7 separate regions of the Homo sapiens genome follow, and all the other regions are linked to region 1. Evidence: promoter capture Hi-C in 16 types of primary human blood cells and fetal thymus (Javierre and others, 2016). All regions are on one chromosome and are shown on one strand. Each heading gives the region's core, a stretch centred on a gene start or on the middle of the fragment in contact. The rest is flanking DNA. Distances are from core to core; before and after follow the strand shown. Region 1 holds the start of ANKRD61 (ankyrin repeat domain 61). Region 2 overlaps KDELR2 (KDEL endoplasmic reticulum protein retention receptor 2). Region 3 overlaps DAGLB (diacylglycerol lipase beta). Region 4 has its middle 31 kb from the start of RAC1. Region 5 overlaps FAM220A (family with sequence similarity 220 member A). Region 6 has its middle 10 kb from the start of RAC1. Region 7 overlaps DAGLB (diacylglycerol lipase beta).

The links. The method cuts DNA at HindIII sites, captures the fragments that hold promoters and counts their contacts. A CHiCAGO score of 5 or more calls a contact.
Region 2: a fragment that was not itself captured here is called in contact with the fragment with the promoter of ANKRD61 in region 1 in 4 of 17 cell types (total B cells, M0 macrophages, M1 macrophages and 1 more); the score reaches 6.9 in total B cells.
Region 3: a fragment that was not itself captured here is called in contact with the fragment with the promoter of ANKRD61 in region 1 in 1 of 17 cell types (naive B cells); the score reaches 5.2 in naive B cells.
Region 4: a contact is called between a fragment that was not itself captured here and the fragment with the promoter of ANKRD61 in region 1, in 7 of 17 cell types (erythroblasts, naive B cells, total B cells and 4 more). The highest score is 8.0, in erythroblasts.
Region 5: a contact is called between a fragment that was not itself captured here and the fragment with the promoter of ANKRD61 in region 1, in 15 of 17 cell types (naive CD8 T cells, total CD8 T cells, naive B cells and 12 more). The highest score is 11.0, in naive CD8 T cells.
Region 6: a fragment that was not itself captured here is called in contact with the fragment with the promoter of ANKRD61 in region 1 in 4 of 17 cell types (endothelial precursors, erythroblasts, total CD4 T cells and 1 more); the score reaches 7.9 in endothelial precursors.
Region 7: a fragment that was not itself captured here is called in contact with the fragment with the promoter of ANKRD61 in region 1 in 1 of 17 cell types (monocytes); the score reaches 7.2 in monocytes.

What each region holds. Positions count from the first base shown.
Region 1 is chr7:6,029,478-6,032,885 of GRCh38, reverse strand. ANKRD61 (ankyrin repeat domain 61) reads right to left here and starts at 1,510. Exons shown (of 3, transcript NM_001271700.2): 1 at 1,295-1,510; 2 at 1-47. The coding sequence starts at 1,510. All of the region lies in intron 11 of EIF2AK1 (eukaryotic translation initiation factor 2 alpha kinase 1), which reads left to right. The HindIII fragment of the contact is 4,913 bases long and covers 302-3,408 here.
Region 2 is chr7:6,465,138-6,468,427 of GRCh38, reverse strand. KDELR2 (KDEL endoplasmic reticulum protein retention receptor 2) reads left to right here. Exons shown (of 5, transcript NM_006854.4): 4 at 2,105-2,357. Among named protein-coding and RNA genes, the nearest start is that of KDELR2, 17 kb to the left of the region's middle. The HindIII fragment of the contact is 274 bases long and covers 1,255-1,528 here.
Region 3 is chr7:6,423,816-6,427,034 of GRCh38, reverse strand. DAGLB (diacylglycerol lipase beta) reads left to right here. Exons shown (of 15, transcript NM_139179.4): 7 at 921-1,047; 8 at 2,200-2,283. Among named protein-coding and RNA genes, the nearest start is that of DAGLB, 23 kb to the left of the region's middle. RefSeq lists an enhancer at 2,016-2,515. The HindIII fragment of the contact is 3,115 bases long and covers 1-2,857 here.
Region 4 is chr7:6,403,980-6,407,374 of GRCh38, reverse strand. No RefSeq gene overlaps it. Among named protein-coding and RNA genes, the nearest start is that of RAC1, 31 kb to the right of the region's middle. The HindIII fragment of the contact is 4,507 bases long and covers 1-3,395 here.
Region 5 is chr7:6,340,484-6,343,843 of GRCh38, reverse strand. The region is part of intron 1 of FAM220A (family with sequence similarity 220 member A); the gene reads left to right. The region is part of intron 1 of SMIM10L3 (small integral membrane protein 10 like 3); the gene reads left to right. Among named protein-coding and RNA genes, the nearest start is that of FAM220A, 6.8 kb to the left of the region's middle. The HindIII fragment of the contact is 477 bases long and covers 1,201-1,677 here.
Region 6 is chr7:6,362,593-6,365,753 of GRCh38, reverse strand. It overlaps the pseudogene RPSAP73. Among named protein-coding and RNA genes, the nearest start is that of RAC1, 10 kb to the left of the region's middle. The HindIII fragment of the contact is 8,332 bases long and covers 1-3,161 here.
Region 7 is chr7:6,441,968-6,445,319 of GRCh38, reverse strand. All of the region lies in intron 2 of DAGLB (diacylglycerol lipase beta), which reads left to right. Among named protein-coding and RNA genes, the nearest start is that of DAGLB, 4.3 kb to the left of the region's middle. The HindIII fragment of the contact is 2,747 bases long and covers 1-2,714 here.

The sequences.
Region 1 (3,408 bases), core at 261-2,760:
TTGTGGTACTTGGCAGCCAGATGGATGGGGATGATAGACTCTGTCGGCTTTGGAGGGAAAACAAAACACATTACAAGTGGCCCTGTGTAGTTAAAAATACTGTTTGTGTTAGCTTGCCGTTTCAAAGGCAATACATTTATTTAGTGTCTCATTGGCTCACTCTTTTTCTGGTATGTGCATTGAAAGTTTCCTTTCTACTACCTGTTTTAAATGATCAAAATTCAGTGAATTCCATCCTATAAAATCTGTGTTTCACAGAAATGCACATTTACTGAGGCAACAGAAATAACACTCAAAAGCTTTGGAAATTTTTGAAAGTTGATTCTTCAGAAGAGCCTGTGGTGTGATATTAAGGGTACTTGCTATGAAGTCACTTATTCCTTAAATTAACCCACAGGGTGATGGACAAGTAGGTGCTGTGTCGTTGCCAAAGTCGTATTATCAGCAGTAAAACCTGAATCTTCAGGGTTTTCAAATATAACGCAGCATATGTTCTGTCTATGATTAGCAGAGCTGTTTGTGCCAGCTCTTAAAATACACACGTGTAAGTAGTGGTTTCACACCGTGGCTGCAAGATAAGACAGTAGGGTACAAGGGAGGGTGACTTCCTTTTTGAATTTAATTGTAAAAGTAATAATCATTGTATAAAAATTTAGAAAATGAAAATGTATATATTAAAAAGGGAAAAACTATTTTTTGTTTGTTTGTTTGAGATGGAGTCTTGCTCTGTCATCCAGGCTAGAGAGTGCAGTGGTACGATCTTGGCTCACTGCAACCTCTGCCTCCTGGGTTCAAGCAATTCTCCTGCCTCAGCCGTCCGAGTAGCTGAGATTACAGGCTCCTGCCACCAAGCCCGGCTAATTTTTGTATTTTTAGTAGAGACGGGGTTTTGCCCTGCTGGCCAGGCTGGTCTCGAACTCCTGACCTCAGGTGATCCACCCACCTCAGCCTTCCAAAGTGCTGGGATTACAGGCATGAGCTACTGCGTCTGGCCAAAAAAGGGAAAAACTAATTTGACCACATGGAGATCATCACTGTGGGTATGTTTGAGAGATGACATGAATGGTCTTCCAGTCACACAGGGTCTGGTGTTTTCTCATGTTGGTTTGTGTGTGACATGTGTAGGGGAGGCTTTGCAGGCTTTGGGGAGCACTGCAGTGTGTGTGGAGTGAGCTGGAGTCGTGTCTCATTCTCATAAGGGCCGTGAGCTTAGTGGGTTCACCAGCTTTAGATCATGCTTCTTTCTAAGCAGCCTGACTTTTTTCCAGAAGTGACTGAGCAGAAAAGAGGGTACCTGGGTCAGAAGTAATCTGTTGCTGGCGGAGTTGGGCAGAATGGTGATGGGCTGGTTGACAGGGTGATTTCTCAGGAGTACCTCGATCGTAGTGCAGTCTTCTCTCATGATGGCTTCATAGAGTTTCGAGTGAAGTGCTGCAGATGGGCCATCTTCCAGGGACTTGGCACTGTCAACCACCAGGTCTCTGCTTCCTTTCCTGGTTATATTCCCCATGAGAAAAACTTAAGACTTCAGGGGAAAATGTTGTTATGGAATTGGTCAGTTTCAGTCTCTTTGTGATGATTCTTTCAGTTCAGTTCTAGAACTGTTCTAGAATTTGTCGAGAATTGGATCTGTGAAGGCAATCCATCAGTTTGGAACCAAGCGTCCAGACTTTGTTCCTTGATCATAGAATGTCAAATGTCAGCAGTTTTTAGGGTTTTCTACTCTATCATAAAAACATATTCAAGCTATCATCTTACACCTTTATTTCTGATTTCTCTCCAGTTCAAGTGTAGCTGAAACAATGATCAAAGCTAAAACAGAGGAATTTATACATTAAAATACAAAGTTAAAATTATTACTTTTAAAGTAAGAAAACTTTTAACCTTAAGTTATTTTTTAGTTTTTATTATAATAGAATCTTCCCTCTCCCCATTATGGGTTCAGTTTTTCTCCGGCATAGGAATAGTTTGGGAGATGTTTTGGGTCTGTACTCTTTGCTTAAATAAAGCCATTTAGTGTGATCTATTAGTTCCCAACCCTGGCTAATACATATGAGTTATCTGGGAGCTTTTAAAAAATATCAAAGTTGGCTGGGTGCGGTCGCTCATGCCTGTAATCCCAGCACTTTGAGAGGCCAGGGCGGGCAGAACATGAGGTCAAGAGATCAAGACCATACTGGCCAACATGGTGAAACCCTGTCGCTACTAAAAATACAAAAAGTAGCTGGCTGTGGTGGCGTGCGCCTGTAGTCCCAGCTACTCAGGAGGTTGAGGCAGGAGAATTGTTTGAACCTGAGAGGTGGAGGTTACAGTGAGCCGAGATGGCACCACTGCACTCCAGCCTGGCGACACAGCAAGACTCTGTCTTAAAGAAAAAAATCAGTTTTTTCGTAGTGCGAGAAACATGCTCACCCGTCCAAACCCAAAGAGTGAACTTAGAGGCACAAAGAACAGTGAAAGTGAGACTTTTAATAGCCCTCTTGCAAGGTCACGTGTCTGGTAGGCAGGTACACCCAGGGCAGTTACAACAGGTGATTTATCTCCTAGCATGCAAGACCCTACCTCAGTTCCTCACTGGTCAAGGACTACAGGGTTACGATCTTCCCGGACGTCGCCTAAGTTGCATTATCCCCTTAGAAGGTTATACCCTGGTCCCTTTCCCGCTTAAGTTTGGATTTCCCAGTAATGAAACTTTCTTCCCTTTTATGGGCTGACTCCTCTACATCCTGTTCACTTATTGTGATCTTCCAGGTGGATGAGCCATGTGGTTTGTTACATTTGCAGGCTGGCTGCCGGTGCTTAGATTTATCATGCCTTGAAAAAGCCATTTAAAATGTTTTCTCACACATAGAAAATCACGTCTCTGGACTCGACAGGACAGTCGTTTCTTTTCTTTTCTTTTTTTTGAGACAGAGTCTCACTCTGTTTCCCAGGCTGGAGTGCAGTGATGCGATCTCGTCTCACTGCAACCTCTGCCTCCCAGGTTCAAGCAATTCTGCCTCAGCCTCCCGAGTAGCTGGGATTACAGGCATGCACCACCACACCTGGCTAATTTTTGTATTTTTAGTAGAGATGGGGTTTCACCATGTTGGCCAGCCTGGTCTTGAACTCCTGACCTCAGGCGATTTGCCCGCCTCAGCCTCCTAAAGTGCTGAGATTACAGGTGTGAGCCACCGTGCCCGGCCGAGGACAGTCATTTCTAAGAGCTTCTTGGGTAATGATGTGCAGTAAGGGTTGGGAAGCACTTGTGTACAAAGCATGCTCTACATTAATATTCTCCAAATTTAGAATAGCCTTGGGACTTTTAATAATACTGATGCTTGCGTTCACCCGCAGGAGTTCTGATGCAGCTGGCCTGGGGAATGGTTGAATGTTGAGGTTTTTTTTTTTTTGAGACAGGGTTTTGCT
Region 2 (3,290 bases), core at 142-2,641, 440 kb before region 1:
AAACCTGGAGGCGGAAGTTGCAGTGAGCCGAGATCGAGCCACTGCACTCCAGCCTTAGCGACAGAGCAAGACTCCATCTAAAGAAAAAAAGTTAATTTCATGGTCATGTCTGGTTATCTAGAATGGACCTATTTGCATGTTTGCAGATCGTGTAGGTTTTCATGGAGTTTTTTGTTTTTATTTTCTGGTTTGGCAAACTCTAGTGCAATGTTCATGACTGGTGTAAAAAAATCGTAGATGAGAATTAAGCACCCACATATTTAGGTGTCTGCTGACAGTTTACTGTCTGATTCATTTGAAATAGAAACTTGAAACTGTATTTCATTATCTTGACTTCAGTGGTACCAAACACAGAGCCCTGCCTGTCCCAGTGTGGGAAGAACAAGGTCTCCCTCCTGTAGCCCACATTTTGTTTGCTTTTCATGTACAGATGTGCACTGATGTCGTGTCTGTGACCCTGCTTAGCAGCACTCTGCACCTCTTGCCTTTAGGAAAGCTGGTTTGTGGTGCCCCTAGTACTGTGCAGTGAGCTGATCTGCTCCTGAGTGCCTCTTCTTTCCCTGCTGAACAGGCAAACGGTGCTGCTTCACATCCTGGGGCCGATCAAGTCACTGTGCTACCCTGGGTGTCTGATGGGTGCTGGGAGTGCCTGGACTTTTCTTTTTTTTTGAGACAGAGTCTCGCTGTCACCCAGGCTGGAGTGCAGTGGCATGATCTCGGCTCACTGCAACCTCCGCCTCCTGGGTTCAAGCGATTCTCCTGCCTCAGCCTCCCGAGTAGGTGGGATTACAGGCACCCACCATCATGCCTGGCTAATTTTTGTATTTTTAGTAGAGACCGGGTTTCACCATGTTTTCCAGGCTGGTCTTGAATTCCTGATCTCAGGTGATCTGCCTGTCTCGGCTTCCCAAAGTGCTGGGATTACAGGCATGAGCCACCACACCCAGCCATGCCTGGACTTTTAAAATACTCAAGGACCCTCTGAAAGTCCTTCTATCATCATCGTGAATAAAGTCATACGCTGGGCAGAGAATTTCCATAATTACAGTTGTGACTTCTACCCCTTTGATTTAACCACACCAGAAAGCTTAAGGAATAAGAAAAATAGTGAAAATATTTCAGTAGTTTGGCAAGATCAGTCAGTGAGGAAAAACAGCAGTGAGGAAGTGGAAGGAGCTTATCAATTATCAGTATTGTCAATCCTGGCGGAAAGCAGGGTTGATTTGGTATCCCAGATCTGGAGCAGGACAAGCTTGTCCAGGAGAAACCTCTGTATGTAGATTCATAGAAAATTGAAGAGGGAAGAATAAACCTGGAGAGACAAGGTGATGAAAATTCAAAGAGGTAGAGGTGTCCAGGTTACCCAGCTTGTCACACTGGCAGTGCCTTGCCTCTTAAAGGTTGCTTAAGTTTCTGTGATTTATGCCAGGAGTCCTCAACCCCTGGGCCACTGACTGGTACTGGTTCATAGCCTGTTAGGAACCAGGCCACCCAGGAGGAGATGAGCCGTGGGTGAGCAAGTGAAGCTTCATTGTATTTATAGCTGCTCCCCATCACTCACATTACTGCCCAAGCTCCACCTCCTGTCAGATAACTGGCAGCATTCAATTCTCATAGGAGCATGAGCCCTATTGTGAACTGTGCATCTGAGGGATCTAGGTTGCATGCTCCTTATGAAAATCTAATGCCTGATGATCTGTCACTGTCTCCCATCACCCCCAGATAGGACCATCTAGTTGCAGGAAAACAAGCTCAGGGCTCCTACTGATTCTGCATTATGACGAGTTGTATAATTATTTCATTGTATATTATAGTAATAACAGAAGTAAAGTGCACAATGATTGCAATGTGCTTGAATCATCCCGAAACCATCCATCCACCCTGCTGGTCTGTGGAAAAATTGTCTTCTATGAAACCGATCACTGGTGTCAAAAAGGCTGGGACCACTGGGTTATGCAGTTGCCAAGCTGTTGTTCTATTTTGGGCCGACATGCCCCACTCCCCACTCATCTTAGGCTGCTTTGTGGTAAAGAAAGCAAGAGTGTTTCCTCTGAGCTCCTGGTGGGCAGTGGGTCGTGATGGAAGCTTGCCATTTCTCTTCCAGATCCTCTGGACCTTCTCCATCTACCTGGAGTCCGTGGCTATCCTTCCGCAGCTATTTATGATCAGCAAGACTGGGGAGGCCGAGACCATCACCACCCACTACCTGTTCTTCCTGGGCCTCTATCGTGCTTTGTATCTTGTCAACTGGATCTGGCGCTTCTACTTTGAGGGCTTCTTTGACCTCATTGCTGTGGTGGCCGGCGTAGTCCAGACCATCCTATACTGTGACTTCTTCTACTTGTACATTACAAAAGGTATGTTGGGTGCGACCTGCGTTGTTTCTAGAGTGACGTGTTCTTTTAGGAGTGCCCTTGCCCAGCACTCTTCTAATCTGGCACTCTCTCATAAACTGGCTCCAGAGAAACACTTTCATGATTGGCCAATAACATTCTGGATCAGGATGTTGTCTTTTTAAATATAAGAACCCTTTTTCTTTTGCAATAGCTTTTCCTAAAGTGACACATTTTCACTGTAAAAGATTCATCTGGTGTTTCAGTGAACATTAACACCAGATACCTCTCTATGCATACACAGACACATGACTTAAACTGTACATTGCTGTTCTATACACTGCTTTTATCCCCTCACATTTTTCATGTCACTAGAAATCTACATAATTTTCAGTAGCCACAGAGTGTTTCATTATGTGCATGTACCATAATTTATTTACCCAGCCCCCATTCATGGGTGGTCAGGCCGTTACTGGTTTGCTGTTAAAATCCAGTCATTAAATCAGCATCCTTGTGTATATGTGTTTTTGCATTTGTATGAACATAGGACGTGTGAACTTTACAAATATTTGATGAAAGCTATCATCCTTGTTCAGAAAAAAAAAAACATTTATGCCAGGTGCAGTGGCTCACGCCTGTAATCGAGCACTTTGGGAGGCCGAGGCGGGCGGATCATGAGGTCAGGAGATCGAGACCATCCTGGCTAACACGTGAAACCCCGTCTCTACTAAAAATACAAAAAACTTAGCCAGGCGTGGTGGTGGGCGCCTGTAGTCCCAGTTACTCGGGAGGCTGAGGCAGGAGAATGGTGTGAACCTGGGAGGCGGAGCTTGCAGTGAGCCCAGATCGCGCCACTGCACTCCAGCCTGGGTGACAGTGCGAGACTCTCTCTCTCAAAAAAAAAAAAAAAAAAGATATTTACGCAAATGCACCCAAATGCATGTATATAGTTTTGAG
Region 3 (3,219 bases), core at 51-2,550, 390 kb before region 1:
CCAGTTGCAAGCAAGTCTCCTGCCTCAGCGTCCCGAGTAGCTGGGATTACAGGCGCCTGCCACCACACCTGGCTGAGTTTTGTATTTTTAGTAGAGGTGGGGTTCCAGCACGTTGGCCAGACTGGTCTCGAACTCCTGACTTCAGGTGATCCACCTGCCTCGATCTCCCAGAGTGCCGGATTACAGGCATCAGCCACCACGCCCGGCCTCTTTTTGTTTTTTAAACGTAGAGCACAGTACTCAAAAGTTACTTCTATGATTTCTTGTTTATTTTCTACGGAGTTGGCTGTGCTGTTCATTTGGACAGGTTTGCTTTACCTGCTTCTGTTGGCATTCAGTTTTAGGGACTTGCCCATCCTTGTTGATGAATTTTTTGAATATAGAAATCATTAACATGATGCCAGAAGTCAGAACTCTATCCAAGAAGTGTACACAGAGAGGTATTATCTTTAATAAGCCATTCCGGGCCCAGTGCAGTGGCTCACGCTTATAATCCCAGCACTTTGGGAGGCCAAGACGGGCAGTTCGCCTGAGGTCAGGAGTTTAAAACCATCCTGGCCAACATGGCGAAACTCTATCTGTACTGAAAATACAAAAACTAGCCGGGCATGGAGGTGCACGCATGTAATCCCAGCTACTCAGGAGGCTGAGGCAGGGGAATCGCCTGAACCTGGGAGGCGGAGGTTGCGGTGACCTGAGATTGTACCACGGTACTCCAGCCTGGGTGACAGAGTGAGGCTCCATCTCAATCAGTCAGTCGATCAAATTAAGTTTTAAAAAGCCATTCCATGTCAGCCAGGCTAAGTCCTGAGAATTGTCCGCTCTGGTCCTCGCGTCTCTGGGAACATGTGGCAGTGAGGATGGACGTTCCTTGCCAAGTGGCTCTGTTCGGCATAGTAACGTCTTTGTCCTCTTTTTAGCTGCAGAAGCAGAACCACAGACTATGACTTGGTCGGAGGCGATCAGCTCAACTGTCACTTCGGCTCCATCCTGCACACCACAGGGCTGCAGTACAGGGACTTCATCCACGTCAGCTTCCATGACAAGGTGTGGACGCTGCAGACAGCGGCTCTTCACTTCTTTTGGGTCCTGGAGCTGTTAGAGATTCTGATGGAAGTTATGAATTATTCTTCCCGTAATTCATAGACACACAAACACACTTCTAAGTCCTGTGTACTATTTCAGAGGGGCCACAGACTCTGGGGGAGCCACACAGATGCCCTGGTGCAGGTTCAGAACCCAGGTTTCACATAAGATAGAGACGTCTTCATCAGAGATAGCGCGCTGTGTTTCTTACCTCGCCCTTCTGTTGAGGAGTGAAATCCCTCAGTATTAATGCCGCATGGCCTTCTGGGATTCGTATCGTCGTCCTGGGTTGTGAGTGCCATCAGTAGTGTAGTGTAGCAGGTCTGGCACTCTGGGGGGGTCACTGTCACCTTGGGAGAAGCTGCAAAAGCCAGCTGTGGGCCGGGCACAGTGGCTCACGCCTGTAATCCCAGCACTTTGAGAGGCCGAGGCGGGTGGATCATAAGGTCAGGAGTTCGAGACCAGCCTGGCCAATATGGTGAAACCCCATCTCTACTAAAAATACAAAAATTAGCTGGGCGTGGTGGCAGGCGCCTGTAGTCTCTGCTGGTCGGGAGGCTGAGGCATGAGAATCACTTGAATCCGGGAGGCGGAGGTTACAGTGAGTTGAGATTGCGCCATTGCACTCCAGCCTAGGTGACAGAGCAAGATGCCATCTCAAAAAAAAAAGCCAGCTGTGCATGGCTGCAGTGCTGCGTGTTCAGTGTCGCTCGCTGTCTCTCCAGGTGATTCTCATAGGCACCGCAGCGGGAGGCCTGCTGGCGCAGATCGGCGGCTCTCCCACTTTGCTGCCCAGTAGAACCTCTTGAGGAGCTTTTAACACTGCTGAGGTCCAGGCCGCACCCTGGGCCAGTTCAATCCGAATCTCTGGGGAGGTCAGAGAGAGGCTAAGAAAACAAAGATCCTTTTTCATGTAGAGCAGCATGGTTTATGAAGGCCAGTCCCTGCCAGAGTGGGTCCCACTGTGTAGTGAGCGTGAGTGGAGAGGCGGTGTCCCCTCCTCTCTGTGCCGCAGGACTTGGGCTGTCATTGCAGACACTGCAGGGCTCCGACTTTGCGTGCTGGTGCGTGTGTTCACTGTTTAGGCCCCATGCTTGTTTCTTGCTCCTGCAGGTTTACGAGCTGCCGTTTTTAGTGGCTCTGGATCACAGGAAAGAGTCTGTTGTGGTCGCTGTGAGGGGGACCATGTCTCTGCAGGTAACGTTGGAACCTGACTTTCCAGCCCTGGGAGTGGGTGCGGGAGCGGGAGCCCACAGCTGCTCGGCTGGGGAAATCCGTCAGTAACCGCATGAGACACAGGGGAAAATGGTGAGGACAGAAAATGAGGATGTGAGCCTGGGGTTGGGAAATACTCCCTTTGCAAAAAGGGATGAAGCTGTTTCATCTTCACTGAGAACTGTCAGCAGCAGAGCGGCCAGCAGGTTGGCCCCCCCGCCACAGGAGCTCCCAGAGGGCACCTGCTTGACCCCTCCCTGCCTAACTTCCCTGAGCCCAGCCAGGCCCCACACCCGGGAGCCCTCCCGGGGAATTTCTGCACCAGAGCCAGATGGCGGCAGTGAGTCAGTCTTGCTGCAGAGAGTCACGCCCCTGGCCACCAGCCCCGCTGGAGGCTCCCGGTTTGGATCCTCACAGGCCCTCGTGGCCTGCCGTTCTCCAGGTGAGGTCAGGACTGCCGACATCCATCCCCAGCCCATGGCCCCTCTTCTGTCTTCCTCAGTCCATACTCCTGGGCCCCTTGGAGATGCCAGGTGACGCTTTCCTTGTCAAAGCTTTCTTCTCTCCATTCCGGTTTCCTCCTGGCCACTCCTCAGTCTCACTTCCCGTTCTTCTCTGCTGACCCAGAAAATGAGTTGAGACTCCAGAGCCTGTGTGCTCAGCCCTCTTCTGCTCCTGACTGGCTCTGGGGTAGCCCCCCTAAGTCCAGGGCCAGGACCCCAAACTTGCATCTTCAGGAGCCATCTGTGGGTCTCCCGGGAGGCACCAGAGAAGCCACACTTCCCACAGGGCTGCTCCTCCCGGGGGGCGCCCTGTTCACGTCAGCTCTGCCATCGTCCCCCCATTGCCCATTTAAGAAGCAGTGGCGCCTGTAATCCCAGCACTTTGGGAGGCCAAGGTGGGTGGATCACAAGGTCA
Region 4 (3,395 bases), core at 564-3,063, 370 kb before region 1:
GATGTGGAAGAGAAAAGGACAATCTCACAAGAAAAAAATACATCCCAACAGAAATGGCTAAGAAAAATCATGGAAGAACTGCCCTCAGAATTCTGAAGGGACTAGGTGCAGTGGCTCAGGCCTGTAATCATTCCATTTTGGGAGGCCAAAGTGGGAGGATTGCTTGAGCTCAAGACAAGTGTGGGCAACACAGCAAGACCCCATCTCTTAAAAAAAAAAAAAAAAAATTTTTGAGATGGGCGTCTCACTATTGCCACCCAGGCTGGAGCACAGTGGCACGATCTTGGCTCACTGCAACCTCGTCTCCCAGGTTCAAGCAATTCTCCTGCCTCAGGCTCCTAAGTAGCTGGGATTACAGGCGTGCACCACCACGCCTGGCTGATTCTTGTATTTTTAGTAGAGACGGTCTCACCATGTTGGCCAGGCTGCTCTCGAACCCCTGACCTCAAATGATCTGTCCACCTTGGCCTCCCAAAGTGCTGGGATTACAGGCATGAGCCACTGCGCCTGGCCAAAAATAAATTTTTTTAACCGAAGGGAGGCTGGGTGCAGTGGGCCAAGCCTGTAGTCCCAGCTACTTGAGAGCCTGCAGTGGGAGGATCACTTGAGCCCAGGAGTTTGAGTCTAAGCCTGGTCAACATAGCAAGAGCCTGTCTCAAAAGAAGAAATCTGCAGCCTAAGCAACATAGTCAGATCCCATCTCTACAAAACAAAATTAGCTGGGCATGGTGGTGCACACCTGTAGTCCCTATTACTCAGGATGCTGAGCAGGACTGCTTGAGCCCAGGTTGTTGAGGCCACAGTAAGCTGAGATCATGCTACTGCACTCCAGCATGGGTAACAAAGTGAGACCCTGTCCCAAAAATATAACTTAAAAGGGATGTTCACACCAACCTAGAATTTTAGGCCCAGCCAGAAGTAATGTACAACAGTTGTTTTCAAAGATGCAGGGGCTCAAAAATAAGAGTGATGCCTTACTTAACGATGGGTATACATTCTGAGAAACACGCGGGTGATTTCATTGTTAATGTCAGCCTACTACACACCTGGGTCAAAGGTAGGGCCTGTTCATTGCTCCCAGGCTACTCACCTGCACAGCCTGTTACTATACTGAATGCAACAGGAGTTCTAACAGTGGTATTTGCGTATCTGTACACAGAAAAGGTACAGTAAAAATAAGGTGCAGTCACACACTATCATACATGCAATACACTGTTGACTAAAATGTCATTACATAGTGCATGACTACGTACTTCCAACTCTCTCAAGGGATTTCTTGGAGAAACCATTCAGGATGAAGTAAATCAAAAAAGGGAATGTGGATGCAGGAAATGAAGACCAGCACCTAAGAGAGGTGCAGATCAGATGACTCCAGGAAAATGGGTATTGGCAAAATAACAACACATCTGAATATCTTGAGAGGTTTAGACAATAGATGAAAGTTCACAGCTGAGGCCGCGCACAGTGGCTTATACCTGTAATCCCAGCACTTTGGGAGGCTGAGGTGGAATGGTGGCTTCAGGCCAGGAGTTCAAGACCAGCCTAGGCAACACAGGGAGACCCCCCCCCCCCAACTCTACTAAACATTTTAAAAATTAGCCGGGCATGGTTGCACACACCTGTGGTCCCAGCTACTCAGGAGGCTAGGGCAGGAGGATCACTTGAGCCTAGGAGCTGTGATGGCACCACTGCACTCCAACCTGGGTGACAGAGCAAGACCCTTCCTTAAAAAAAAAAAAAAAAAAAGTTCACAATTGAATTCAGTACATAGGAAAGTAAGCAAAGTACTAATTATCCCAAAGAAAACCAGAAGTTCTGCAGGAAACACAGTTTTGTTGCTACATGGCAAGGCCAGTGAGTAGTTTATGTAGTAGTGATCATGCCGGCACTAAACTGAGTCCACCAAAACCATCAGATTGAGGGGATGAGAAAGGTTTTGGGTGGAGAGGGCTACAAGCGGGAAAGCAAGCCTCTCATCGTCCATGCTGGGAATGTCGATGAGAATGGCTGAACTCAGAAGTTACACTGGAACAAAAAGCCTAATTTAGACACAGCAGGTAAAATACCAAAAATCAGGTAAGCAAACAAAGTATTCCTTCTGGAGAGGCTACGAAGGGGGAAGTGTTTTTCTTTAGAAACCACTAAAACTTTTACTTTTAAAAACTGCATATTGACAGGTATGGTGGCTCACACCTGGAGTCCCAGCACTTTGGGAGGTCGAGGCTGGTGGCTCACACCTGGAGTCCCAGCACTTTGGGAGGTCGAGGCTGGTGGATTGCTTGAGCTCAGGAGTTCAAGACCAGCCTGGCCAACATGGCAAAACCCTACAAAAAATACACACAAAATTAGCTGGGTGTGGTGGTGCGCACCTGTGGTCCCAGCTACTCCAGAGGCTGAAGTGGGAGGATGGCTTGAGTGCAGGAGGCATAGGTTGCAGCGAGCCAAGATCACGCCACTGCACTCCAGCCTGTGAGACAGAGCCAGATCTTATCTCAAAAAACAAAATCTGCATTATTTATATCTGTTTAAAAAAAAAATACTCAGCTGGAGGCGGTGGCTCACGCTTTTAATCCCAGCACTCTGGGAGGCCGAGCAGATCACCTAAGGTTGGGAGTTCAAGACCAGCCTGGCCATGGTGAAACTATGGTGAAAAAATACAAAAAATTAGCCAGGCGTGGGGGGAGGCACCTGTAATCCCAGCTACTCGGGAGTCTGAGGCAGGAGAATCGCTTGAACCCGAGAGGCAGAGATTGCAGTGAGCCGAGATCACACCATTGCACTCCCAGCCTGGGCAACAAGAGCAAAACTCCATCTTAAAAAAAAAACAAAAACTCAAAAACAATCTTCAAAGCAATAAAAAGGAATATTAAGAAAACGAATTCTAACATGAACCTTTATGTAGTACAAGTTCAGGCTCTTGCATTTTTTTTTTGGGTAGGTCTCTTTCTTGTCCAGGCTGGTCTAGAACTCCTGGGCTTAAGCGCTCCTCCTGTGTCAGCCTCCCAAAGCGTCGGGCTTAGAGGCGTAAGCCACGCACTCAGCCTCTGGAAAGGATCTTAAGGGCATGTGGTTCACCAACCTCTACTCTTCCAGGGCCAGTCTAGGGTCCCAACATCTCCATCTTCAGCCCCTAGCTCTGGGCCAGGATGTGCACACACACCCCGATAGGCGCTTCTCCCTCAGAGCTTCGCCACTGTTCGACAGGTCCAAACATGAATGTCACCTCCACTCCTGCCGTATTTGGGCTCACCCAGTTCTCCCCTGGAGGTGGCACTCCCTGTCCCTCCTGTGTGGAGACACGCATTGAAAATGACTGTCTCCAACAACCCAGGACTTTAAAGCAAGGCAAACAAACACACACCAGGAACTTGTTCATCAAGTCTCAAAAACACCAG
Region 5 (3,360 bases), core at 190-2,689, 310 kb before region 1:
GCCTAAGGAACTCCATTTTCCAAATTTGTTTAGGGAGCCCCTCCTCCCTAGATCTCTAGTTTGTAGGGCAGTGAGGCATTTTAAGGAGGTTAATACCTCTTTAGGATGAAAGATGATTAAATGAGAAAATGATGCAGACAGTTGTATACTGAGAATGGTTATGATTTTAAAATACTATTTGCAAGCAAGCCTTAATCTCCTGGAGTTCTTAGCATCCTTCTTATTTATACAGAATCTGAAATACAAGGCAGTTAAATGGAATCAATACCAAATACTAAATTTAGTAAAAGCAAGATTAAAAATGGTACTGTGAATCTGCTATAATTTAACAAGTCATGCCTACAACTTTTCAGTTATATGGCCTGTGGGAAGAACGAAGTGTTTCTTAGTCCTAGATCATATATATATATATATATATATATATATATATATATATATATATATATGAAATTATTATTATTTTTTTGAGACGGAGTTTCACTCTTGTGGCTCAGGCTGGAGTGCAGTGGTGTGATTTTGGATCACTGCAACCTCCGCTTCCCAGGTTCAAGCGATTCTCCTGCCTCAGCCTCCTGAGTAGCTGGGATTACAGGTGCCTGGTACCACGCCCAGCTAATTATTGTATTTTTAGTAGAGACGGGGCTTCACCATGTTGGCCAGGCTGGTCTTGAACTCCTGACCTCAGGGGATCCACCCTCCTCGGCCTCCCAAGGTGCTGGGATTACAGGTGTAAGCCACTGCACCTGGCCAATTTTTTCTTTTCTTTTCTCTTCCTCTTTCTTTCTTTCTTTTTTCTTTTTTTTTTTTGAGAAAGCGTCTTCCTCTGTCATCCAGGCTGGAGTGCAGTGGTGCGATCATAGCTCACTACAGCCTCCAGCTCCTGGACTCAAGCCATCCTCCCACTTCAGCCTTCTGAGTAGCTGGGGCTACAGGCATGTGCCACCATGCCTGGTTGATTTTTTCATTTTGTTTCTAGATGGGGTCTCACTATGTTGCCCAGGGTGGTCTCGAACTCCTGGCCTCAACTAATCCTCCTGCCTCAGCCTCCCAAAGTGCTGAGATTACAAGTGTGAGCCATCATACCTGGCCCTGCTTAGTCTTTTGTTTTTGTCTTTTATGTCTTTCTATGTTGGACTTTTGGGTTGCTTTCACTTTTTGGCTATTGTGAATAATGTTACTACGAACATTTGCATGTAAGCTTTGTGTGGACATCGGTTTTTATTTCTCTTGGGTGTATACTTAGAGCAGAATTGCTGGATCATATGTAACTCCTCTAACCATTTCAAAAAGATCACTTTTTTTTTTGAGACAGAGTCTCGCTTTGTCACCCAGGCTGCAGTGCAATGGTGTGATCTTGGCTCACTGCAACTTCTGACTTCTGGGTTCAAGTGATTCTCCTGCCTCCCGAGTAGCTGGGATTACAGGTGCCTACCACCATGCCCAGCTAATGTTTGTATTTTTAGTAGAGTCGGGGTTTTGCCATGTTAGCTGGGCTGGTCTCCAGCTCCTGGGCTCAAGAGATCCACCTGCCTCGGCCTCCCAGAGTGCTGGGATTACAGGTGTGAGCCACCGCACCCAGCCTAGACACTGTTTCTATAAGACAGAAAGAGAGAGAGAGAAAGAGAAAGTAAGAAACAAAGAAAAAGAAAGAAAAAAGAAAGGAAAGAAAATGAAGCTTTAAGAAGAGACTGTCTGCTTGGTATACCAACCTAATACCAGCACCTAGAACAGCACCTGGCACCTGGCGTAGGGTAGGTTCTTAATGAGTGATTGCTCATTGAATGTGTGGCAGAAAATCTTTAGAATCTTGAATCAAAGGTTTTCAGCACTTGCAATTTTTTTTTTGAGATGGAGTCTTGTTCTTGTCGCCCAGGCTGGAGTGCAATGGTATGATCTTGGCTCACTGCAGCCTCCACTTCTCGGGTTCAAGTGATTCTCCTGCCTCAGCCTCCCAAGCAGCTGGGATTACAGGTGCCCACCACCATGCCTGGGTAATGTTTGTATTTTTAGTAGAGACAGAGTTTCACCGTGATGGCCAGGCTGGTCTTGAACCCCTGACCTCAGGTGATCTACCCACCTTGGCCTCCCAAAGTGCTGGGATTACAGGGGTGAGCCACTGCACCTGGCGCGCACTCATAATTTTTTTTTTTTTTTTTGACAGAGTCTTGCTCTGTGGCCCAGGCTAGAGTGCGGTGGCGCGATCTCAGCTCACTGCAAGCTCCACCTCCTGGGTTCACGCCATTCCCCTGCCTCAGCCTCCCGAGTAGCTGGGACTACAGGCTCCCACCACTACACCTGGCTAATTTAAAAAAAATTTTTTTTTAGTAGAGGCAGGGTTTCACCACGTTAGCCAGGATGACAGTGCTCATAATAATAATAATAATTATTATTATTATTTTTTTGAGACAGAGTCTTGCTCTGTCACCCAGGCTGGAGTACAGTGGCGCGATCTCCGCTCACTGCAAGCTCCGCCTCCCGGTTCACACCATTCTCCTGCCTCAGCCTCCCGAGTAGCTGGGACTACAGGCGCCCGCCACCAGGCCCAGCCAATTTTTTGTATTTTCGTAGAGATGGGGTTTCACCGTGTTAGCCAGGATGGTCTCAATCTCCTGACCTCCTGATCTACCCTCCTTGGCCTCCCAAAGTGCTGGGATTTCAGGGGTGAGCCACTGTGCCTGGCCAGCACTCATTTTTTTTTTTGGGACAGAGTCTTGCTGTGTCGCCCAGGCTGGAGTGCAGTGGCACGATCTCAGCTCACTGCAAGCTGCACCTCCTGGGTTCATGCCATTCCCCTGCCTCAGCCTCCCGAGTAGCTGGGACTGTAGGTTCCCACCACCACACCTGGCTAATTTTTTGAATTTTTTTTTTTTTTTTTTTTAGTAGAGACAGGGTTTCACCATGTTAGGCAGGATGACAGCTTTCATAATTTTTTTTTTTTTTTTTTTGAGATGGAGTCTCACTCTGTCGCCCAGGCTGGAGTGCAGTGGCGCCATCTCGGCTCACTGCCAGCTCCGCCTCCCGGGTTCACGCCATTCTCCTGCCTCAGCCTCCCGAGTAGCTGGGACTATAGGTGCCCACCACCACGCCCGGCTAATTTTTTGTATTTTTAGTAGAGACAGGGTTTTACCGTGTTAGCCAGGATGGTCTCGATCTCCTGACCTCGTGATCCGCCCGCCTCGGCCTCCCAAAGTGCTGGGAATAATCCCACCATGCCCAGCCAGCACTCATAATTTTTTAAGTCATTGTCAACCTGCCCTCCTTCGAGTCTGTTATCCTGAATTCCCTCCCTGGCAATGTTGGGGAAGCTGTGGGTGGTCTGTATTTGCCCTTCAGCCAACTCCAGGTGCAGCACGGCCTCCG
Region 6 (3,161 bases), core at 541-3,040, 330 kb before region 1:
TATTTTCCATCAACCTATTTCCACGTTGCTTAAGAGCCCGTGCAAGAACACCTTAAGGCCATTCAGTTGTTGCTGTTACCCATTCAGCAGCCTGAGCAGTGGGAGCTGCAGACCAGTCTTCCGTGGCAGGATGACTGCTCCAGTCTTCAGCAGGGAACTGCTGGATAGGCACAGAGGGCACCTGCATGCCGTAAGACCAGTCTGCAACCTCAGGTTGAGTAGCGGTGAATACAGGAGCTGGAGCTGTCCATTCACCCTGAAATTCCTCTTTGGTCACAGCCTTTTCAGCAGCAGACAGGTTTTTAATTTTATTTTTATTTATCTATTTATTTTTCTGAGATGGAGTCTCGCTCTGTCGCCCAGGCTGGAGTGCAGTGGCGCGATCTCAGCTCACTGCAACCTCCACCTCCTGGGTTCAAGAGATCCTCCTGTCTTAGCCTCCTGTGTAACTGGGACTACAGGCACGCACCACCATGCCTGGCTAATTTTATTTTGTATTTTTAATAGAGACGGGGTTTCACCATGTTAGCCAGGCTGGTCTCGAACTCCTGACCTTGTGATCCACCCACCTGCGCCTCCAAAAGTGCTGAGAGGGCCGGGCAGGGTGGCTCACTCCTGTAATCCCAGCACTTCAGGAGGCCGAGGCGGTTGGGTCACGAGGTCAGGAGATCGAGACCATCCTGGCTAACATGGTGAAACCCCCATCTCTACTAAAAATACAAAAAATTAGCCAGGCGTGGTGGCGGGCGCCTGTAGTCCCAGCTACTCGGGAGGCTGAGGCAGGAGAATGGCGTGAACCCAGGAGGCGGAGCTTGCAGTGAGCCGAGATCGCAACACTGCACTCCAGCCTGGGTGACAGAGAGAGACTCCAAAAAAAAAAAAAAAAAAAGACAGATGATAAATTATATTAACACACTATGAGAATTAGCCAGGGGTGGTGGTGTGCACTTGTAGTCCCAGCTATTTGGGACTCCATCGCTTGAGCCCGGGAGTTTGACTGCAGTGATCCAAGATCTTGCCACTGCATTCCAGCCTGGGTGATAGAGTGAGACCTTGTCTCTAAATAAAGTGCTGGGATTACAGGTGTGAGCCACCATGCCCGGCCAATTAACATTCAATATTTGTTGATAGTTCCTTCTCTTCTTTTATTTATTTATTTAGAGACAAGGTCTCTATCACTCAGGCTGCAATGCAGTGGCAAGATCTTGGATCACTGCAGTCAACCTCCTGGGCTCAAGCGATGGAGTCCCTAATAGCTGGGACTACAAGTGCACACCACCACCCCTGGCTAATTCTCATAGTGTGTTAATATAATTTATCATCCTTCTTTTTACCTTCTTTTTTTTGTTTTTAGAGTCTCACTCTGTCACCCAGGCTGGAGTGCAGTGGAACCATCATAGCTCACTGTAGCCTCAACCTCCTGGGCTCAACAGATCCTCCTGCCTCAGCCTCCTGTGTAGCCGGGAACACAGGCATGTGCCACCACACCCAGCTAACTTTTTTGTAGAGACAGGATCTTGCTATGTTGCCCAGGCTGGTCTTGAACTCCTGGACTCAAGCGATCCTCCGGCCTTAGCCTTCCAAAAAGTACTGGGATTACAGGTGTGAGCCACTGTGCCCACCCTAATTTGCCATCTTAATGAAAAGAATAAAAACTCCAAGGAAGGTTCTGGATCCCTTCAAATACAAGTGTCTGATGGCCCAAAGAAAATGACTGTTTTCTCTTAATTATGTAAACCTTGCTGACATTTTGCACTGGAAGCATGGTATAGTGGAAGGCACACTGGGATAGAAGCCCAGGAACTGCCGACTACTGCTGCCAACCTGGCCCCAGGTTAATCACCAATGGGCTCTGTGACATCGTTAAGTCATTAAGCCTTTTTTCCTCATTGCTCATCTGTACAATGAGGAGAATGAACTTTGTGTTCTCCATTCTACAAGTCCGCAAGTCCACTAAGTGCTGTAAAGATGTGGAGGAACAAGATAGTACTTTTTTTTTTTTTTTTTGAGACGGAGTCTCACTCTGTCGCCAGGCTGCAGTGCAGTGGTGCAATCTTGGCTCACTACAACCTCTGCCCCTGGGGTTCAAGCGATTCTCCTGCCTCAGCCTCCCAAGTAGCTGGGATCACAGGCATTACACCTGGCTAATTTTTGTATTTTTAGTAGAGATAGTGTTTCACCATGTTGGCCAGGATGGTCTTGATCTCTTGACCTCATGATCTGCCTGCCTTGGCCTCCCAAAGTGCTGGGATTACAGGTGTGAGCCACTGTGCCCGGCCTGATTTTTTTAAAAATTAAAGTCATTTAATTTAAATGACTTTAAATAAATAATTTACTTTAAATGATTGTTTAACAATGTGCACATTGTTAAAACATCAGCTAGTACAGAAGAGCTCATACTTTAGACCTCAAAAAAAAAAAACAACTTTATTTTTTGTTTTGTTTTGTTTTTGAGATGGAGTTTCGCTCTTGTTGCCCAGGCTGGAGTGCAATGGCGCAGTCTTGGCTCACTGCAACTTCTGCCTCCTGGGTTCAAGTGATTCTCCTGCCTCAGCCTTCCAGATAGCCGAGATTACAGGCATTCTGACCTTAAGTGATCCGCCCACCTCAGCCTCCCAAAGTGCTGTGATTACAGGTGTGAGCCATTACGCCCGGCTTTTTTTTTTTTTTTTTGAGACAGAGTTTCACTCTTGTCACCCAGGCTAGAGTGCAATGACCCGATCTTGGCTCACTGCAGCCTCTGCCTCCCAAGTTCAAGCGATTCTTGTGTCTCAGCCTCCTGAGTAGCTGGGGTTACAGGCACCCATCACCATGTCTGGCTAATTTTTGTATTTTTAGTAGAGACAGGGTTTCACCATGTTGCCCAGGCTGGTCTTAAACTCCTGACCTCAACTGATCTGCCAGTCTCTGCCTCCCAAAGTGCTGGGATTACAGGCGTGAGCCCGTCACCCAGCGAGTTATTTGTTTTTTTTTTTTAATTAAAGTCATTTAGTTTAAATGACTTTATTTACTTTAAATACTTGTTTAACGTAGTGTACATTTTTAAAACCTCAGCTAGCACAGAAGAACTCATACTAAAGACCTTAAAAAAAACTTCGGGTTTTTTGTTTTTTGTTTTTTGTTTTTTTTTTGAGACAGGGTCTTCCTCCGTAACCCACGCT
Region 7 (3,352 bases), core at 92-2,591, 410 kb before region 1:
AGCATGTATCAGTACTTCATTTTGATGGCTGAATAAGAGCATCGAATGAATGGACCACATTTTATTTATCCCTTTGCCATTTGGTAGGCATTTGGATTGTTTCCATTTTTCACCTATTACGAATAGTGCAGCTATGAACATTCGCATACAAGTGTTTATACAGACATGTTTTCATTTCTCTTGAGTGTGTACCTAGGAGTGAATTGCTGGATCATGTGTTAATGCTCTGTGAAACCTTTTGAGGAACTGCCAGACTTTTCCAAGCAGCTGTACCATTTTACATTCCCACCAGCAGTGTATAAGGGTTCTAATTGCCCAACGCTCTTATTATATGACTTGTTAATTATAGCCATCCTAGTGAATGTGAAGTGGTAGCTCATGATTTTGTTTTGTTGTGTTTTGTTTTGTTTTTTTGAGACGGAGTCACACTCTGTCACCCAGGCTGGAGTGCCATGGCGCAATCTCGGCTCACTGTAACCTCTGCCTCCCGGGTTCAAGTGATTCTCCTGCCTCAGCCTCCCGAATAGCTGGGGCCACAGGCCATTTGTTTTTTGTCTCATGGCTTTGAGGAACATTTCTTTGGTGACTAATGATGTTGAGCATCCTTTCATTTGCTTATTGCTCATTTGTGTATCATTTTTGCGGAAATGTCTGTTCAGATCTTTTGCCCAATTTTAGACTAGGCTATTGATCCTTTTATTTTTTATTTTTATTTTTTGAGATAGAGTCTCCCTCCGCTGCGCAGGCTGGAGTGCAGTGGCGTGCTCTCTGCTCACTGCAGCCTCCGTCTCCTGGGTTCAAGTGATTCTTGTGCCTCAGCCTCCCATGTAGCTGGGATTACAGGCACCCGCTACCACGCCTGGCTAATTTTTGTATTTTTAGTAGAGATGCGGTTTTACCATGTTGGTCAGGCTTGTCTCGATCTCCTGACCTCACGTGATCCACCCGCTTCGACCTCCCAAAGTGCTAGGATTACAAGTGTGAGTCACCGCGCCTGGTCCCTTTTATTTTTACATTGTGAGGGTTACAACTATTTTGTTGTTGTTAGAGACAGTGTCTTGCTCTGTTGCCCAGGCTAGAGGGCAGTGGCGCAATCATAGCTCACTGCAGCCTCAAATACCTGGGCTCAAGCAATCCTCTCTTCTCAACCCCCAAGTAGCTGGAAGTACAGGCACGTGCCACCATACCTGGCTAATTTTTTTTATTTTTATTTTTTGTAGAGACAGGGTCTTGCTATATAGCTTAGACTGATCTTGAACTCCTGGGCTCAGGTGATCCTCTCGTCTCGGTCTCCCAAAATGCTAGGATTACAGGGGTGAACCACCGCGTCTGATCACCTATTCTTCATATTTTTTATATGTGTTACAGTTTTCTGTAGATAACCATTTATCTGAGAATGTCTCCAGAAGTGTTGGAAACCTTCCCTGTTGGATTCCTCTGCTTCATAGGATGATGTGAGCACTGTGGTGACTAATAAAGGAATGCATTCTTAGAAATGATTCATTGGTCAGAGGCAGGGCTGTGTGACATGCCACCATCCGCCATGTTTTAGTCCTTTGTCACTGCTTGAATTGGGATGGACGAGGTATGCATATCAGATATATGCTGGTGGTGAGGTGCACTGGGAGGCGCTGGTGATACAGTGAGTGACGGCATCAAGATCTTGACAGTTTGGAATAAAGGACTGAAATGTAAAAGGTGTTAGCTCATAGGAGCAATGTAGAGGGTAGAAATGTTAGCAGCAACATCTTTCATGAGAAAAAGACCTTAGGGTTTGGGATGACCAGCAAGAGTGGCATGTGCCTGATTACCACAGTAACATAGAAAACAGAGCTCTGTGTATTTTATTTTACTTTTTTCTTTTGAGACAGAGTTTTGCCCTTGTTGCCCAGGGCTGGACTGCAATGGCGTAATCTCAGCTCACTGCAACCAACCTCTGCCTCCCAGATTCAAACAATTCTGCCTCAGCCTCCCAACTAGCTGAGATTACAGGCACGTGCCACCACACCCAGCTAATTTTTTTGTATTTTTAGTAGAGACAGTTTCTTTTTTTTTTTTTTTTTTTTTTTTAGTAGAGACAAAGTTTTTTGTTTGTTTTGTTTTGTTTTTTTTGTTTTTTGTTTTTTTTTTCCGGATGGAGTCTCGCTCTTTCACCCAGGCTGGACTGCAGTGGCACTATCTCTATCTCGGCTCACTGTAAGCTCCGCCTCCCGGGTTCACGCCATTCTCCTGCCTCAGCCTCCCAAGTAGCTGGGACTACAGGCGCCCGCCACCGTGCCTGGCTATTTTTTTTTTTTTTTTTGTATTTTTAGAAGAGACGGGGTTTCACTGTGTTAGCCAGGATGGTCTCCATCTCTTGACCTCGTGATCCGCCCGCCTCAGCCTCCCAAAGTGCTGGGATTATAGGCGTGAGCCACTGCACCTGGTCTAGTAGAGACAAAGTTGAACCATGTTGGCCAGGCTGGTCTCGAACTCCTGACCTTAGCTGATCCACCCACCTCATCCTCCCAAAGTGCTGGTATTACAGGTGTGAGCCACTGCACCCAGCTAGCTCTGTGTATTTTAGTATGCCTCTAGAAACATCCACGCAAGGAGGCTGGATTGATGGAGGCTCCACGTTTGTGTTGGCCCCCAAATGTAGGCTGTCATTGGTGCCAGATGCTTAAGGAAAGAAAGAAACCATGTGTACAGTGTGGCTTCAGCGCTGGGAAGCTTCTTATTGAAGGTGAAGTATTGAGACTGGTGTCATTTCAGATACAGCATTATCTAACTTATTTGCCCTTTTTTGTTCATCTCACATTCTGGTTAGACCACTGAGTTTGTGGCTGTAATAGCAGGGTCAGAGTGGAAGCAGTCGGTGTACTTTTTTTTTTCCTTACATGTTTGTTTGTGTTGAGATATTTTTGGTGTTGGGACGTCTTTACCTCCCTGTGAGGGATGCTCATATTCACTCCGTTCCCTCTTCCTAGACACTCGTACAATGCTTGCATCATCATGTACTTGTGGTCAGAGCTCAGAAGTCATCTGTGGGTTGTCGGAGTGTTCTGGGTTGTCTATCCCACAGCCTCCTCCAAACAGAACCCCGTTTTGTTTTGCCCCCATCCCACACATACCAAGTATGCGTCAGAGAAGCAGACCCTAGGCCGGGCTCACGTATTGGTGATTGGTTCAGGAATGGACACGTGACCCAGTTTGGCCCAGTGAGAGTCAGGGAGAGTTTGGTGGAAGGTTCTGGGGAAGTGCTTCCTTGCCCCTCTAGGAAGGATCCAAAAGCCATTTATCGTCGCTCTCCTGGCTGAAGCTGTGTCTCCACTCACAGCGCAGGGCAAGCTGACATACAGGGCAGGGGAGA